Linked DNA regions of Homo sapiens: all the other regions are linked to region 1. Evidence: promoter capture Hi-C in 16 types of primary human blood cells and fetal thymus (Javierre and others, 2016). All regions are on one chromosome and are shown on one strand. The core of a region is centred on a gene start or on the middle of the fragment in contact, and the rest is flanking DNA. Distances in the headings are between cores, read along the strand shown. Region 1 holds the start of TMX4 (thioredoxin related transmembrane protein 4). Region 2 holds the start of ISM1 (isthmin 1). Region 3 holds the start of ISM1-AS1 (ISM1 antisense RNA 1).

Evidence for each region. Contacts are between HindIII fragments. The CHiCAGO score rates a contact against its expected background, and 5 or more counts as called.
Region 2: a contact is called between the fragment with the promoter of ISM1 here and the fragment with the promoter of TMX4 in region 1, in 1 of 17 cell types (total CD4 T cells). The highest score is 5.2, in total CD4 T cells.
Region 3: the fragment with the promoter of ISM1-AS1 here is called in contact with the fragment with the promoter of TMX4 in region 1 in 1 of 17 cell types (total CD4 T cells); the score reaches 5.9 in total CD4 T cells.

What each region holds. Positions count from the first base shown.
Region 1 is chr20:8,017,975-8,021,949 of GRCh38, reverse strand. It overlaps TMX4 (thioredoxin related transmembrane protein 4), which reads left to right and starts at 2,189. Exons shown (of 8, transcript NM_021156.4): 1 at 2,189-2,512. The coding sequence starts at 2,337. TMX4-AS1 (TMX4 antisense RNA 1) reads right to left here and starts at 2,044. Exons shown (of 7, transcript NR_184034.1): 1 at 1,846-2,044; 2 at 689-1,559. RefSeq lists silencers at 2,189-2,428, 2,539-2,678. The HindIII fragment of the contact is 3,626 bases long and covers 1,482-3,975 here.
Region 2 is chr20:13,219,394-13,223,596 of GRCh38, reverse strand. ISM1 (isthmin 1) reads right to left here and starts at 2,323. Exons shown (of 6, transcript NM_080826.2): 1 at 1,683-2,323. The coding sequence starts at 1,820. It also overlaps a transcript of TASP1 not described here. RefSeq lists silencers at 1,892-1,961, 2,421-2,540. The HindIII fragment of the contact is 8,964 bases long and covers 1-4,203 here.
Region 3 is chr20:13,237,945-13,242,000 of GRCh38, reverse strand. It overlaps ISM1-AS1 (ISM1 antisense RNA 1), which reads left to right and starts at 2,314. Exons shown (of 3, transcript NR_040043.1): 1 at 2,314-2,548; 2 at 2,897-3,017; 3 at 3,892-4,056. All of the region lies in intron 1 of ISM1 (isthmin 1), which reads right to left. It also overlaps a transcript of TASP1 not described here. The HindIII fragment of the contact is 6,320 bases long and covers 1,778-4,056 here.

The sequences.
Region 1 (3,975 bases), core at 940-3,439:
TGGGGTCCCTCCCACAACACGTGGGAATTAGGGGAGCTACAAAATGTGATTTGGATGGGGACACAGAGCCAAACCATATCAGTTATACAGAAGAGCAATTGGATCTGAGAAGAGACAGCAGCTCATTCTGCATGAGCTATCAGAGGTACAGTGTGGACTACATGACAGAGACTGAATGATTCACTGGACAACTGGAGAAGAGTGTTCTAATCAGAATGAAGGAGCAAGGAGACACTGAAGTACACAATGTGCTTTGGGAATGGGGAGTAGCTTTGTGTTACTAGGACACAGGGAACTCTGGGAATAGTGGAATGTAAAGTGGGCAAAACTGAAGCTGGGCTGTGAGAGGCATTGTGTATCATGCTAAGTGAAGTTAACTTTAGTATAAGAAAAATAGACATTACAGCGTATTGTTGCCTCCAAATAATAATATTAGTGTTGGCAATATTGTGGCAAAAACCACAATTATGTTTGCACCAACCTAATATGTAAGCTTTTTGAGTTAGAATATGTGCTAGGCATTATTCTTATCTCATATAATCTTCACAGCCACCTTTTGGAGCAGGTTCTATTACTACCCGCATTTTAAGAGAACTTTGGTGTGGACTAGTTTTAGCCCCAAATCACATGGCTAGGAAGTGTCAGGGCTAAGATGCCAATCATGGTCTGACAGCAACAGGTCCCTTACCCTGGTCTGTGACTCCTTACGGCAAGGTCAGTCCCATACTTCCTTGCTACTTTCTTCCTACCATCCTTAGTCTGAAGGCTAAGACTTCAGTTTTTGTTAAAGATAGGAAATGCTTTGGTAATGGCTGTCTTTCATGCTGAAGATGCTCTCTCTCCTTTTAGCTTTTCATTTTGTAAATTTTCCAACATATGCATGAGTAGGTAAAGTAGCAAAATGAACTTAGCTTCAACACTGACTGATGTTGCACCACTTTTCTTTCACCTATCTTCTTTCCATTCCCTACATTTTATTTCTGGAGCATTGTAAAACAAATTCTACACATCATTCTATCATGAAAGTGATAAAATGACAGAATTCCTGTTTATGAGTCACTTCTTTTTACAAGCACAGTAAAATGTTTTCCATTGAGTTTATGGAATTGATATGTATGTACTTAATAACAGTGAGTCTTAGTAGCATTCATTGCAAAGACATTTTCTTAAATTTCAATAGTTTGTAAACCCTTGAGTGTTTTATTTTAATGATAAGGGCTAGGTCCACATAGTTTTTAGCTAATACTAATTAATGCATAATGCAGGCCAGATCTTCTCTTCAGGCAAAATTAACTTCCCTCTCCTATAAGTATTGATTGAAATTTGCTCTCATGTGCCCTGAAGTACTTTTAGTCTTATTGCTGTCTTTGTTTTAAGCCGAGGGCAGAAACCACATCCTTTTCATGGTCTATTAACCACATTACCGAGGTTCATGGTTTGCACAACTAGTAAACACATACAAAGCACCCTTTGAGAAAGCTTCCTCATCCTTTAATTGTAATCCAGTCTTATATATTAACGGTGTGGTGGTCCCAAGGTACAGATTCATCTAATGTGACCTGGAAAGAAATTTGGAAATCACTTAAGGCTACCCTCATTTTAGATCTGACAAAACTGTAGTCAAGAGAAATGTGAGGTCCATTTTACTGCAGGTGGCAATAGTCTTAATTGACTCATTTTATCGGCTAGTACCCATGTTTTTAAGAGTTTCTATGAAATTAACATTTTTTGTAAAAAAAATGCAATTGCATAGGCTAGTTTCATCAATATCCTAAATTAGTGATGCTTCAATATACACATGCAGAGTACTTAAATTTTCCTCTCTCTTCAGCAGGAGATACTCACCACGTCCCTCCATTTTTCATTAAACATACGTGTACCTTGCAGCCCGTTGCTTTTATATTTGCTATCATTGAAGAGGGGATGGATTTTAAAATTACTGGCCATGTTTCCCTTTAGAGAAGCCCACACGCGCCAACCCTGCCCTTATTGGAGCCTGGGCAGCAGCGGTGCATGTTCTAACTTAGGCAACGTTGGGTCATCTGTTTATTGTCAGCTTGGCGGTCAGGAAGAAAGGGCGGTGGTTGCTGAGGTAACCGACACCCCGGGCAACGGCAAGTGGAGGCGGGAGGGGGCGTGGCCTCGACGGGCAAGCGGCGATAAGAGGTGGCGTCCTCCGCGGCATTGCGAGCACCGCCAGTCTGCGCCGCTAGGCGTAGGCGGGGTGGCCCTTGCGTCTCCCGCTTCCTTGAAAAACCCGGCGGGCGAGCGAGGCTGCGGGCCGGCCGCTGCCCTTCCCCACACTCCCCGCCGAGAAGCCTCGCTCGGCGCCCAACATGGCGGGTGGGCGCTGCGGCCCGCAGCTAACGGCGCTCCTGGCCGCCTGGATCGCGGCTGTGGCGGCGACGGCAGGCCCCGAGGAGGCCGCGCTGCCGCCGGAGCAGAGCCGGGTCCAGCCCATGACCGCCTCCAACTGGACGCTGGTGATGGAGGGCGAGTGGATGCTGAAATTGTGAGTGTGCCCGCCCGCCCCGGACGCCGCAGTGTCCTCGCGGGCGTCACCCTCCCAAGCCCGCGCGGCCCGGTGGCGATCCCGCATTGCCGCTTGGGCTCAACCTAAAACCCCGGACCAGGCTTGCCAACAACCTGCGGCGCCGGTGCCGGGCCGCTTGCGATCCTGCACTGCCGCTGGGCTCGACCTGGGGTCCGCGGACCCGCCTTACCAACGACCTGCGGCTGTGGGGCCCGGCCGCTCGCGCCGCGCATGCGCGCCGAGCCCTCGCGGTGACAGCCGAGGGTGCAGCGCGTCCCCTTGCTTTGGGGGACAGTGTTTTCGGGGTGGAGTGGGCAGCTTCCCATAGGGAGGAGAAGGGAAGGAAGAAAATCTGCAAGCAAACCGTGTGCTTTTAGATACAGATATGTATTGGAAGAGAAAGGACATTCAGTGACATCCACGTGCAGTATGAATACGTAGCACAGGCTAAGCAAGTTACCTGTTGAAGAAATTGCAGCACGGTGAAGGCAGGCCATTTGTGTCGTAGTCTTCCGTTTGAAGACCTGGAGATGTCATTGTGAGAATAAAACATAAATATGGATGCCTTTTAAATTTTACAGTATGATTTCAAATAAATGTTGATACTTATTATAACTTGTAAAGGTAGGACTTTCTGAGTAATATTAATAATTGTGCCATAAAGAAAAGAAGATACGCATTGCCCCTTTTAACAATAGAAAGCAAATGGTGGATAGTGCCTTTTCTTTAAGGAGATGGGAAACTACAGTTTTGAGTTAGGAGAAAGAAAGGGATTTGTTGATTATAGTTTAACCTTATAATAGGAAGTGACCATTTGAAAGAGGCTTGCAGTGGATGGTGGGCAGATGTCTGAGCGGGCTTGAGAGACCATCATGGTGGGCTTGCAGACTCTCTCTCTCTCTCTCTCTCTCTCTCTCTCTCTCTCTCTCTCTCTCCCCCTCCCTCCCTCCCTCCCTCCCTCCCTCCCCCTCTCTCTCTCTCTCCTCTCTCTCTTCTCTCTCTCTCTCTCTCCCTCCCTCCCTCCCTCTCTCTCTCTCTCCTCTCTCTCCTCTCTCTCTCTCTCTCTCCCTCCTCTCTCTCTCTCTCTCTCTCTGTCTCTCTCTCCCCTCCCACAACTCCTTTCCACCCTACCTGCCCCCCTCCCGCCCCCACCCCCCAAACATAAAATCTTTCAGGAAATTGCCACATCTCTTTAGCCTGTGGTTTCTGGCAATCTGTATACTACTATTGAATCTTTGTTTTACGTTGAGGACACAGACAGAAAATTGGATCTTTCCTTTATCCAAGACCAAGTTTTGATTCTTTCAATTTAAATTGCAAGCAGGTGCCTATGGAGTGAAAACCTCAGTGTGAGATCAGAGCCAAAATTTATGTCACACAGCAGATTACATTGCTCGAAGAACATAAGGCATATCACCCCTTCAAATGTGCATTTACCTCTT
Region 2 (4,203 bases), core at 1,074-3,573, 5.2 Mb before region 1:
GTGTACTTTTCTACTGTTTTGTAATTGCGTGCAATAATCACCTTGCTTTAGTCTATCCTGGTAGAGACAAAATTTGGTGTAATCAAGAGTTTGGAATGTCTGAACTTTGACAAGTTTTTTAACCTCTCTGTACCTCAGTTTTTGCATCTGTAAATGAGGCTATATTAACAGTACCATGTCTTGTAAGATTATGGTTAAATTAAGTGAGTTAAATTCTGTAAAGTACTTAAAACGGTGGCACGTAGTAAACACAATGGAAGTGTTTTATTAGTTTTCTCTTTACGGTAAAGTTTTTCGCAATAAATTGTATAAAGATGTAAAAAGTGAATTATCAAAGACAATGAATATAAAGGCCTTTGGGAACAATGAATAATGCTTATTTCATTTTATTTATTTATTTATTTATTTTATTTTATTTTATTTTATTTTATTTTTTTTTTGAGACGGAGTCTCGCTCTGTCGCCCAGGCTGGAGTGCAGTGGCGCGATCTCAGCTCACTACAACCTCCCGGGTTCAAGCAATTCTCCTGCCTCAGCCTCCCGAGTAACTGGGACTACAGGCGTGCGCCACCACGCCCAGCTAATTTTTGTATTTTTAGTAGAGACGGGGTTTCACCATGTCGGCCAGGATAGTCTCCAACACCTGGCCTGAGGTGATCCACCCGCCTCTGCCTGCTAAAGTGCTGGGATCACAGGCGTGAGCCACCGCGCCTGGTTTGAGCAGATTTTAGGAGCCAGAGAATCCCCTCTGCCTCCTGGGAAAATCCCTGCTTGCTTTTGCCTATGCTCCAAGTTTACAGTTGTCCCACCCCTAGACTCAAGGAAAGGCGCTAACATAGCGGCAGGAAATGCCTAGCTGGGCAATTCTATTCCTAAGTCAGAACTCACATTATGTCTGACCGTCCACTACGCCCTCTCCTTGCCCTGAAGTTGAAATGGATAAACAGAATCCCATTGCTAAAGCGACCTTCAACGGGGAAGATCCTTGGGAGAAAGACTTTGCTACAAGTTTAAAAGCCCCAGGTAACCCTGGCCCAAATCACTACCGGTGCCTTCACTCTGCACCTTCCCCATGACCAAGGGGGCACAAGGGGGGAGGGGGGAACCTCAGGCGAGGCTCCCGGAGGAAGAGGAACACTGGAAGCAAGGGAACCCTGAGGGTGAGGAGGGGATGCCTGGCTATTCTCCTTGGGAAATTATGTCCTGACCTTTGGCATTGCTTCCTAAAGGGGTAGACTCCCGGAGTTCTTTCTCCCAAAGACTTCAGGGATATCATCCTATAAAGTCTCCTTGCGTCCCTCCAGCCTCGAGTAACATTACTCAGCCTCCGAAGGGCAACGAAAGACTGGTAGCACCCCCAAGCAAGCACATTCTCCACACTTCCTCTGCTCATCCCAAACCTCGCTCCTTCCCACCTCCCCACCAACCCCGCACCTGACCCGTGACAGACAGAACTGAAGGAGCGCAGCCCGCAGACCTGGAAGCCGGGTGCAGCCTCCAGGCACGTGCCCCCGCTCCGCCTCTGCCTAAGTCAAGTGGCCCGGGCAAAACTACTGCCAAAACAGTTGCTCTTAGGTGGGGCAGGGGACCTGCCTCCCTGCATCCACCCGGCACTAGCTCAGCACCCCCGCCCCACAAACCGTCCCCGCAGCCGCGCACGGCCCTCTCCGGCGGCGCACTCACCTGCAGCTGGGCTTGGCTGGCGTTGCCCGCGGCCGCGTCGGGCCCGTCGGCGGCTCCCGAGCCGCGCAGCACGGTGATGTGCAGCGTGAGCAGCAGCAGCCCCAGCAGCAGCAGCAGCTCGGCCGCCAGGCGCACCATCCTTTTGAGACGCGCGGCTTTAGGACCCGGCGCGGCGGCCGGCGGCGGCGGCGGTGACGCCGGGGGAGGAGGAGTAGGAGCCCGGGAGCCCGGCAGCGCGGCTCCCGCCTCGGCTCCCGCCAGGGCTCCGCTTCCCGGGCCCGCGGGGCTGGCGCTGGGCGCGGCGGGGTGTGCGGGGCCGGGGGAGCAGGAGCTGCCGGCGCCGCCGCCGCCGCCGCCGCCGCACCACGGCGGAGCCACCGCGAGGCCGGGGGTGTCCAAGCCGGCTGCGGAGCAAGCCCCGGCGCTGCCTGGCGGCGGCGGCGGCGGAGACGGAGACTGGGTCCCGGGACAGCCCGGGACCCGGGCCGGGCCGGAGGCCACCCTGCTGGCAGGGGGCTGCGGGGTCGGCGGCGGGGCGGGCGCAGCCGAGCCCCCGAGCGCACATGGGCGCCCCAGATGTGGCCGCGGCGCCGCAGCTGGAGCGGGAGCGGCCGCCAGAGAAGCGCGGGGAGGAGGAGGAGGAGAAGGAGAAGGAGGAGGAGGAGGAGGAGGAGGAGGAGGAGGAGGAGGAGGAGTAGGAGGGCTTCAGCTGCGGCCGGGAGTTACCTCCACGCTTGGCGCCCCCGCCCTCGCCGCCCCGAGCCACTCACCCGGCAAGCCACCTCCACTACTCTCCGCGCTCCTCGGGGCCGCCTGCCGCGCCGCCCCGCACTCGGAGTCCCGGGGAGGGCCGGTTCCAGATGGGGGCCCCGGGCACACCGAGGTTGTCACGGTTTGGCGGTAGCCGGGGCGCCCTCGGCGGCAGCGTCAGCCTGCCGGGCTGTACCAAGTGCCCGCTGCCGAGGTCGCTGTGACGGGCGCGGGTAGAGCCCTTGTGCACACTGAGGCTCGGGGCTGTGGGTGGGTGGGGTGGTGCCTGGGCTGCTTTAGAAACCTTTATTGGCAAACTGGAGCTGGAGTTGCAGTGATGGAAAACGGAGGGGGCGCCGGACAAGCCATGCGTCTGCCTGCGACCCCTGCCTGAAGCAGTCGGGGGAGAGGAGGAGTGCCAAAGTGTCGTTCCGAAGGGTCTTGACACTTGCTGGGCCGCCCGCTAGCCGGGCACGGCTGTTCGCGGATCCGCGGCGCCCCGTAGAGCCTGGGAAGGGAGGGGAGTCCGACTCTCTAGGCGTTCGTCTGGTCACGGGCGCAGGTGTTGGCTGGAAGCTGCAGAGACGCAGTGCCCGCGGCTCAGGCGCTCAGGAACTCGGAGTGAATCTCAGCTCTAGTGGGCTTGCCTCTGTGGGGGGCTCATCCCGGGGGTGCCGCGCCCAGAGGGGATTTGGGGGCTGGCGTCGCGCAGCTGTCGATCCCGGGCCACCGCCTCATGACCGCGCTGCAGCCTCGGGCTCCCGCGTGCGGCTCATGCCTTGCAGTGGGCGGTTGGCGAATGGAAGGGCTCTGGGATCCGGCTGAGGGCGCGGAGTCCGAGCGTCAGATGCTAGAGCGAACTGTGTCGGTCCGTGGCACCGCGCACTTCCCTCCTTGACCTTGCTCGGGCTCCCGCCTTACCGAAGTGACTCGGAGTAGCGGACGCTCAGTCCGGCCGGGACTTTTATACTGCGCTTCCCCTCCTCCTACCCGTTCCCTCCCTTCCTCCTCCCCAGCGCCGGCCCAGCCCTTCCCTCCCAGCGAGCCAAGACCTAGTCCACGCGTTCGCACACAGCCGCGTCGCACATTTCCAAGCCTTTCCCGCGTCCCGGACCCCAGTGCCTCCGGGATGGAGCCTCCGAATTCTCCCTTGGTGAATGAAATTAAATAAATAATCAACTCTTTCTTGACGGCACGCCTCCCTTTCCCCCTCCCCAATTTCCTACCTTCCTTCTCCGCGTCCTAGAAAGATTTAAGATTCTTAATTCAACTGCTTTCGAGTTCTCGCAAGGCATCTCAACCAAGTATTAACCAAATTAAGGCAAACCCTTGCGCCTTTGCGAAGGTTCCTCCGGTCACCGCGGTACTTTGCAGAATTTAAATAGCGGTAGTTAAGGTAGGGTCTGCTGGTTGGGCTTATTTGTGCCCGGGAGAGGAAGGGCTTGCTGCCTCCTTAAAGATGCCTGAAGCATCTTTAAAATTCTAACTAACTCCAGCATCTTATTAATAAATTGGCAGCTGTTTATAGAGTCTGCTATATTTTTTCCTTTTCATTATTTTTTTTTGGGTGGGGAACGGTGCGAGGGAGGAGGGGAGATGTTTGGAGGGGTGCTTGCTTTGGATTTTTAGGCAGCCGGGCCTGTCAGACATCTTATTTCTATCTCTAGGCTCTAAAATGCCAATAATTGTCACTGGAGTGCGGGTCGGGGGGAGTGGGGGGAAACGCGAAACAATAACCGTCCGTATTTCAGATGGGAGATCAAAGAGGGGA
Region 3 (4,056 bases), core at 1,065-3,564, 5.2 Mb before region 1:
TTTACTTTCCTTCTTCAACAAGTGTTCTTTTATTTTAATCATTTCCTTGCAACGGCCCTCAACTCTGCTTGCCCCTTTCTCTTCTCCTTATATATTTGACTGGCAACACCTCCATTTTGGTTGAACTCAGTGATCCAACTTCTGTAGGTTAGTAGCCAAGCAGGTGGGTGATGGGAACAATAAAAGCATCCAACTTGACAAACTTGCTTTATTTTAGATTCATGTCCTCAAACCCTCAAATGAATACTAAGCACTGTTCCAAAATCCAACTGCCCTTCCTTCACAACCTTACTTGCTCCAGTATCCAAGATGACCATTTTATATCTTCTCTCCTCAAACGTCCTACTTGTGCTCCTGCCCTCACTTCATATTTCACTGATGGAACAGGAGTCATGAGATGGTAACTCTTTTATTACCATCACTCTATTTATACTCCTGTCTGCATAGCTCATTTTCTTTCTCTTCCCAATTGTTACACAGAACAAGCTTTCCTGCTTCTGTGAAAGGCCAATGCTCACACATAGCCCCTTGCCTTCTTGAAGAATTCACTCCTCATTTCTCCTCTCTCAGTTTTGCATCATCAATCTCTCCCTTTCTATTGGATCGTTCTCATCAGCCTCACAGATGCCCTGGTATCTCTGATCTTACATGAACCAAAAACTCTTTTTTGACCACATGTTCATATATCTCCCCTTTTTATAGTAAAACTTTTGCAAGACTTATTTGTATATTCTGTCTCCATTTCCTCACCTTCCATTTGTTCCTTTACCCAATAGACACTGGAGTCTGTTCCCATGATGCCTCTGCAACTGCAGAGCAGTTGGTGACCTCATTCAGGTCACCAGTCATGGCTGCGTTGCCCAGTTGAATGAGCACTTCTCTGGCCTCATCTTTTTTGTTCTCACAGCAGCATTCGATAGAAGTCCTCTCTCCTTAAGGCATTCTTCTCCCCTGGCTTCTGTGACACACCTCTTGGTTCTCCTTTTACCACTTTCATCATGACACCTCACTCTCAGCTCCCTGTCCACTTCACAGCCTCCCTGCTATTATCTTCACTTACATGTCCCAGAGGCATCTCATATTCCACATGTCCCATATAAATCCACTGACATGAACTCTACCCTTGTGAAACTGGAAGCTGTCTTTGACTCTTCACTTCTTAACTCTGAAATGCAATCCAACAGCATATCCTGTTGGCTCTGTCTCAGAACTGTGCCTTGCATCCATCCACTCTTCTCTACCCTGGTCCACATCCCATCACCTCTTACCTGAATTATTGTGAAATTTTCTAACATATCTATGTTCTTCCCTCTCATTATCCACTGATCAGATGGAGCCATCATTTAGAAGCTCTTCAATGGCTGCTTCCTCACCAATCCTAGAACAGCCATATTCTTTATCATGACCTGCAAAATCCTTGCTTTTTTCTGCAAGTTCATGTGCCACTTTCTTCCTTACACACTGTTCTCCAGTCTCTTTTCCATCCCTTAGTCATGCCAAAGTCCTTCCTATCTCAAGGCTTTGGTGTTTGTGATTCCGTCTGCCTGACTGGCTCTCCTGAGTTCTTTGCAGAGCTGGTCCTTTTATTCCCCCAGCTCAGGACTCAAGTGTCACTTTTCCATCAAGTCCTTCCTTGACCACCCTCTTTTAGTAGGAACTCCCAGTTATTCCCTATCTTTTGCTCCCTGTTTATGTCCTGCTAAGCACCTATCACAATCTATAATAATTCCTTTATTCTGAATCAATTATTGTCAGTTTTCTTTCTAGAACATAAGCTTGTTCTCTATTGAATCTCCAGTGCCTAGCACAATATCTGCTGATCACAGCCACGCGATATGAAAGTGCTGAATGAATGAATGGAATTGTAGAATGCCATGTGGCTGGGCAGTGCTCAATGCTTATATGTACATTATTTCATTTGCCTTACTGCAGTTTGGTTGTATATTAAATAAAAGAGACAATTCATGTCCATTTAATTACCTTTCTGCTCCTGTAACAACCTAAGAGCAACCACCATGTAGCAGGATCCCAGCACTTTAGATGTACACTTACTCTAATTCTCTTTAGCTAAGTGGGGCTATAAAAACTTTTACAGATGTTCAGAAATGGGGGATTGTGTGGCTTCATGAAAGATGACTTGCTTTGGAGTCTGGTACTGGCTGTAGGATAAATGAATGGTATGGTCTTAGCCAAATCTTTTAATTTCTCCAGGTTTTAGATTCTTTGTCAATGAAATGAGACATTGGGGCTTGGCTTTCTTGCCTACAACAACATTCTAGAATTTGGTGAGTGTCTGCAACCTGCCTTCTAAACAGAGTGCCTCACCATGGAGTGCAGGTGGGTTGGAGCACAGATGAAGCCCCGGTCCAACCTGGGCATTCCTGCAGCCATGTGCAGTGACCCTTGTGTATGTGAGTACCTGTCATGTGCCCACGTATCCTGGTGGCACAAAAGGTACTTCATGTAGATTGTCAGGACCAAGACACAGAACGTTCTTGGGGCACACCACAATAATTCCCCCACTAGCATTCACCTTAAGATGAAAGAAGTAAGTAAAACCCTTCTCAGATCTCAGGGAGGACCCTGCAGATGGATCCCTGAAAACTTAAGGCCAAGGCCATTCATGCCCATTATTGGGTTCGTCCAGACCTTAGCATTAATCCTGGCCTTGGTGAATAAGAAGTGAAAGAACCATTGTGGGGCATGAGAGAACCACACCAGACAGAGTTTCAGGGCAATGAGTCCCTGGGGAGAACCTGGAACAGAACTTCGAATACCTAGTCTGCCACAGATTTTTTCCTGAGAACTTGCCTTTCATTATTTCTATTTAATACCTGCTGTTCAATGTTTAGATTCACTCTCTTTGTGATCCCAATGCCTCTTCAAATGTTTCCAGTTTTTTTCTAGTTGATGTGGATTCCCCAGATTTATCTCATTTCATGATGTCTTCGGAATTGCATGTTGTGCCACCATCACACTTCACACTCTCAGTAAGGAGCTCTCAGTTGTCTCACCTGGTTCGTGTCTTCCTGAATGTACCAGTGAGGGGAGCAGAGAGGGAAGGATGCACTGAGTTGTTAGCCTTTTTCCAGCAAAGTATGGAGAGCTGAACCTTTTCAGGAGTAATGGGTTAAACAGAAGTGGATGACTTGCCCACTCTTTAGAACGTTGTATCCTCTATGGGCTGATCAACTGCTATCATGAGTGAACCTGAAAGGATTATTCTGGATTGGTCAGTTTTCAGGAGGCTGGTCATTTTGATCGTAGATGTGACTTTCTCCACCACCTGGGTCAGACTCCATGTGAAGCCAAAAACATCCTGTATATTATAAATAATTTTACTTTTTTCCTTCTTGGAAAGTTAATAACATTCTTCATTTTCTGATAGGCATAAAAACAACTTTGTTGTTTTCTAGTTGAGTTCTAGTATCTGGAAATGCTAATAAGTCTGTGAGATTTTCACACTGGAATTATGTGGAGTGATGTCCATGTGGGTATTGGGGAACTATGTATAATCGATCCAGGAGTTTAATTTGGCCCCAACCCTTAAAAAAATGTTTACCCTACTGAAGGGCAGCTCCAAATAAGTTAATGAGTAATGGGCTATGAATTTTGCCATTTTGCCTGATTTTAGTGAGGTGGCCCTCTGGTTTGAAGTAGATTGCCTCTCATTAATGACCTTCTCAAGAACTTTCAGAGCCTAGGGAGAGGGCTAGAGCATAAAAATATAATTCAAATTAGTCCCCAAAAGTCACCATGTCCAGTAGAAGTCTCTCAGGCCCATGGCTGGACTTCTGGGAATGTTTGGGCAATGTAACCACAGTGATGTTTATTAAATGGAATGTCCACCTCACAGTGCTCTCAAAAGTATTCTTTTTTTTAAATTTTAAGTTATTGCTCCTCTTTATTGTAAACGATGTCCTATAAAGAAGATATATGTCTACAATTGAGCTTTGAAGGAGGACCATGGAGCCAGTTCCTTTTAAGGGGAATGAAGTCAAGCAGTAAATTTGCTGGTCACTCTTTTCATATGGACCGCATCTCAGCCAGCAGTTG